Regions from separate parts of the Homo sapiens genome. Here region 2 is linked to region 1. The links are contacts of gene promoters, found by promoter capture Hi-C in blood cells and fetal thymus (Javierre and others, 2016). All regions are on one chromosome and are shown on one strand. Each heading gives the region's core, a stretch centred on a gene start or on the middle of the fragment in contact. The rest is flanking DNA. Distances are from core to core; before and after follow the strand shown.

Region 1 (2,700 bases), core at 53-2,552:
ATGTGGTGGCTCATGTCTGTTGTCCCAGCTACTCAGCAGCTGAGGCAGGAGGATTGATTGAGCTCAGGAGGTTGAGGCTGCAGTGAGCCGTCATCAAGCCACTGCACTGCAACCTGGGCAACAAAGCGAGACACTGTCTAAAAATAAAAATAAAAATAGAAATAAAAATAAATAAATGAAGACTCTTGCCTTGGATGCAACCCCTCATATGCAGCTGGCTGCTACCTAGTGCTTAGAACTCTTTCTGCCTATATGTGTTAGACACATAGTAAATGATAATTAAAGAGAGAATAAAGTTGAGGACCTAATTCACATTAAAATATAAGCAGTTTGTTGGATCTACTTATCTCAACATATCTGCATTTTAATAAAAAATTATACCTTAACATTCCAAAATTGATCTCAAAAGGTGACATTTTACATTCATCTACTGTTCTTTGGAAAGATAATTTGGGGCAATTGAGCTGCTTTCTTTGTGATCCCCAAAAACTGTTACAGAAGAATGAAGAGGACAAGAGCTCAGTATCTATATATATGAGCACACATCCAAACGTTTATAAACTTTTATGTCTAGGAAGAATGTATTTGCTCTCAGTATATGACCCAACATATGAGTAAGGAGTCTTTTTTTTTTTTGAGACAGTCTCGCTCTGTCACCCAGGCTGGAGTGTAGTGAGATGATCCTGGCCCACTGCAACATCCGCCTCCCGGGTTCAAGTAATTCTCCTGCCTCAGCCTTCCAAGTGGCTGGGATTACAGGCACTCTTTACCATGCCCAGCTAGTTTTTGTATTTTTAGTGGAGATGGGATTTCACCATGTTGGCCAGGCTGATCTCGAACTCCTGACCTCGAGATCTGCCTTGGCCTCCCAAAGTGCTGGGATTACAGGCTTGAGCCACCATGCCTGTCCGAGTAAGGAGTCTTAAAGGATGCATTAAGGTTTGTGAGTAACCCGGGTCTTCTCTGGATAATCTCCGTGCTCAGGCACCTCTCTTTTTCTACTCCGAGCATTGAACAGGGGCAGAAGGAAGCAAGCCATGAGAGAGAGGGACAAGTGTAACCAGAAGGTCCTCAAGGGTCCAAAAGCAGAGCTCCTGAGAGCACAAATTCCCACAGGTGCATACTAAAAAATATTTATGTTTCTACTTTGGCAGAACTCAATTAGTTCCCAGTGTACTGGAATGAAATGGAACAATGAGACCCACCTCACTAAAAACCTAGGCTCCTGTCCAGAACTTTCCAGTCTGTGAGAGAGCAGTGGGCAGAAGGAGATGATAAAAGTAGGTAGAACTTAGCTCTGTATATATAGGCCCAGAACTCGAGAGGCCTGTGAGGGAGAGGAGAGCAGAGAGGTCCTGAGTATTGCTCTTCACGCTTCAGTCGGACAGGCCTGTATTCCATGGGAAAGTCCATTGGCCATTTTTAACTGGGGCTATTTCTTTTCTCTTATGGACTATATCAGGCCACAGTGGTCTCCAAGGGCATGATACTCAAAGGTTGTCTCCTGTATCCTTTGTGCTCTCCCAGGAATAAGCAAAGATGTGCCAGGCTGTGGAAAATAGCCTATGGAGGATTACTAAAGATAGTGACTGGCTCCCTCTTAACATTTTATGTGGTTCTCTGTCTTGATGGCGGGATGGTGCTCATGAGGAAGCAAGTGCCATCAAGGTTCATGTACCCCAAAGAGTGGCAGCACCTCACCATGTTCATCCTCCTCACTCTTAATGGCTGTGTGGACTTCATGAGCAAGAATGTGCTGCCTCAGAGGTGTGTGGGCCTAGAAAAAGGTACCCTGGTCCTGATCATCTACGAGCTCCTGCTGCTGATGGTGTCACATGTTAAAGATTCAGAAGGGGTGGAGCTGCACGTTTATTCTCTGCTCATCTTGGTGGTGTTCCTGCTGTTGCTGGTGTTGACTGCAGAGCTGTGGGCTCCCAACATGTGTCATCTCCAGCTGATGGAGACCTTTCTGATTCTGATGATGGGCTCCTGGCTGATGCAGGCAGGCTTTATTCTATACAGACCCGTCTCTGGCTACCCATGGCAGGACGATGACATCAGTGACATCATGTTTGTCACCACCTTCTTCTGCTGGCATGTGATGATCAATGCCTCATTCCTGTTGGGAATCTATGGCTTCTCTTCCTTTTGGTATCATTGTTTCAGACCCAGCTTGAAGCTGACTGGGCCCAAAGAAGCTCCATATTATGCAAGCACTCCAGGACCCCTCTACAAGTTGCTACAGGAAGTGGAGCAGTCAGAGAAAGAGGACCAGGCTCTCCTCCTTCCAAAGAGCTCCCCCTGAGACAGGGCCTACAGTGGCTGGCACATCGTCCACCTCATCTTCCTCCTGTTGGCTCCTCAGCCACGAGCATGGTACCCTCCTTGGTAAAGGTAATGGCCTTGAAGGCTAGCAGTTGGTCCCGTCTGCTGGTTCATTTTCTTTTCTTCTCTTTTCTTTTTTTTTTTTTTTGAGACAGAGTCTCGCTCTGTTGCCCAGCCTGGAGTGCAATGGCACAATCTCAGCTCAGTGCAACCTCCGCCTCCCGAGTTCAAGCGATTCTCCTGCCTCAGCCTCCCGAGTAGCTGCAATTACAGGAGCCTGCCACCATGCCCGTGCTGGTGCATTTTCTGTCCCTGAGCCTCTAATTACTGAGAAGATAAGGGGAGAGGGATTGAGAAAGAGACGCTGATGGGATT
Region 2 (2,700 bases), core at 123-2,622, 140 kb after region 1:
GTATTTCATTGTATAATGAACAATGAGAGAGGATAAAATTCCAGCCAAAGGCAGAGTAAATCCAACAAAGATGAGGAAGAAGGCGACAGAAAGGATATTCATTTATATGAATAAGCAGATTTTCTACTTTCTTTTTCCTTTTTCTTTTTCTTTCTTTTTTCTTAGGGGGGACAGAGTCTCACTCTGTCACCCAGGCTGGAGTGCAGTGGTGCGATCTCAGCTCACTGCAACCTCTGCCTCCCGGGTTTAAGTGATTCTTGTGCCTCAGCCTCCCAAGTAGCTAAGATTACAGGTGTGTGCCACCATACCTGGCTAATTTTTGTATTTTTAATAAAGACAGGGTTTCACCATGTTGGCCAGGCTGGTCTTGAACTCGTGGCCTCAAGTGTTTCACCCACCTCAGCCTCCCAAAGTGTTGGGACTACAGGCATGAGCCACTGCACCTGGCCAGTTTATATGAATAAGCAGGTTTTCTACTTTCAGTACTACTTTATTTTTTTGCTCAAATTGTTCTAGTTTTGGACATTGGGAGCACTTTCAGTTTCCTCCTGTGTCTCTTTGACATAGCCCCATCAGTGTGTGTTTGTTTTGTTTATTTGGTTTTTTTTGTTTGTTTTTGTTTTTGAGCACTTTCTTACTTTCTGGCACTACAAGATGTTTTAAGCTTGTCTTGTATATATCCTGCCCTGGTCAAAATCTAGAATTTAAAGTATGAGAACACATCTCAAGGTAAAAGGACAAAATCAGATTCTATGAAGACTGTTAACAGTAGCAAAGAGAGAACACAGAAAATGGCCAACAAGAGGGCAGACATAAGAGTTCAGTAGTGATACTAGAGTTTAAGTAACAAAATAAGCAGTCAATTTCCATATAAGAATGCAAATGTGGCCGGGCGCAGTGGCTCACGCTTGTAATCCCAGCACTTTGGGAGGCTGAGGCGGGCAGATCACCTGAGGTTGGGAGTTCGAGACCAGCCTGACCAACATGGAGAAACCCTGTCTCTACCAAAAATACAAAATTAGCTGGGCGTGGTGGCATGCGCCTGTAATCCCAGCTACTTGGGAGGCTGAGGCCGGAGAATCACTTGAACCCGGGAGGCAGAGGTTGCCATGAGCTGAGATCGCACCATTGCACTCCAGCCTGAGCAACAAGAGCAAAACTCTATTTCAAAAAAAAAAAAAAAGAATGTAAATGCATTGTTATGGATTTCCCAGAGACTTGGTGGACAATGTTTGGTGACTGCAATGTTGCTGTGGGAGGGCATGCTTTTGCAGGTTTGCTGGGCCCAGCAGACATGGCAAGTCCTGGCTATCCATGAACTCAAGCACAGAAGCCCAGTGGGCACATTTAGGGGAAAGCTCAATACAAGGAAAACCAGTAGTAACAACATGGCAGGACTGAGGATGATGCTACCTTAATATAGCATAAAGAATACAGATGTGGCCAGGTGTGGTGGCTCGCGCCTGTCATCCCAGCACTTTGGGAGGCTGAGCAGTTGGATTAGATAACTTTAAAAGTTATCTGGAACTGCTGTGGGAGTCTCACAACTGTTGTAGTCTCCATAGGCCCTTAGCTCATGGGTCATTTCAGATGTGGCAAAGTCACTTCAGGCTGACCACAGCTCTCTGGTTCCCTCTATCCTTGGGCTGCATGAGCATTTGAGGCTTTGAGGAGAAGATACACAGGCCAGGGACCTTGTCAGGTAACGTCGACCACCCTGCTCCTTGTGCAAGCTGCCATCTTTTTTAAAAAAAATCTGTCATCAGTGAGTACAGAAAAATAAAATGTCAGCACTTCATATGGGTATATGACTGGGGATGGGGCAGGGGAGATTCACTTATGGATTAATAAAGATAGTGAACAAAGAAAGGGGACAGAGATTATTCTATGGTAATAAAGTAATTTATATCTGTTTTGCTATAAAATAACTATTTTTCTCTAAATCTAATGTTAATGTCAGCCAAAATCACCTCTATTCATTTATTCAATCATCAAGGGATATTTATAATCTCTTGAGTGTCAGTTTGGTACCAAGCACTTTTCTGGGCACTGGGATACATTATTGAACATGACAAGCTTCTCAGCCCTTCAGGACAGTTTGGAACATCTGGCTGTGGTGACCACAGTCTGTCAATGTTCCCTACTGTGCTGAACCTGGTGATTTCCTCTTGAGTATAAGACAATACCACTCAATGAACTGGACAGAGACTTCATGAAAGAGGACCCAGGTGAATGCAGGGAAAGAACTGGGATGTTGGTTTTGACTGGTGCAAACTTCTGCCATTTTAGTGTACAACTGAAAGGGCTGCACATTCCTTTGGCTAATTCCACAATGACACGACCTCTTCCTCTTCCAACCCGCTGTGAATCCTCTTTGCAAATTTTACACGGGCTTACATGTTAATTTTTCAAACCATCACCCCTTTCTTCTATTCCCTTTCCTCCAAAACAAATCCACAAAAACAAAGGAAAAAAAGCTCTAAAACAAGAAAGTGGAGGGTATATTTCCTTTTCATTATTTTGCCTTTTCATGCCCTTCACATCTGGCCTCTGCCACAACTGGTAGCAGAAATGCTAACCTATCATGAGAAAGGCTTTTCTGGGGGAGTGTGCCCCTGGCAGCAGCGACAGCAGTGGCAGGAAGTACAGGAAACCTCATGAGATGGCCTGTTCTTGAACACTTGCCAGCCTGCTTCTGCA

The links. The method cuts DNA at HindIII sites, captures the fragments that hold promoters and counts their contacts. A CHiCAGO score of 5 or more calls a contact.
Region 2: a fragment that was not itself captured here is called in contact with the fragment with the promoter of TEDDM1 in region 1 in 2 of 17 cell types (megakaryocytes and fetal thymus); the score reaches 7.8 in megakaryocytes.

Annotation. Positions count from the first base shown.
Region 1 is chr1:182,399,269-182,401,968 of GRCh38, reverse strand. TEDDM1 (transmembrane epididymal protein 1) reads left to right here and starts at 1,302. Exons shown (of 1, transcript NM_172000.4): 1 at 1,302-2,700. The coding sequence starts at 1,484. The coding sequence ends at 2,305. The HindIII fragment of the contact is 8,350 bases long and covers 1-2,700 here.
Region 2 is chr1:182,259,632-182,262,331 of GRCh38, reverse strand. All of the region lies in intron 2 of LINC01344 (long intergenic non-protein coding RNA 1344), which reads left to right. Among named protein-coding and RNA genes, the nearest start is that of LINC01344, 53 kb to the left of the region's middle. The HindIII fragment of the contact is 1,412 bases long and covers 667-2,078 here.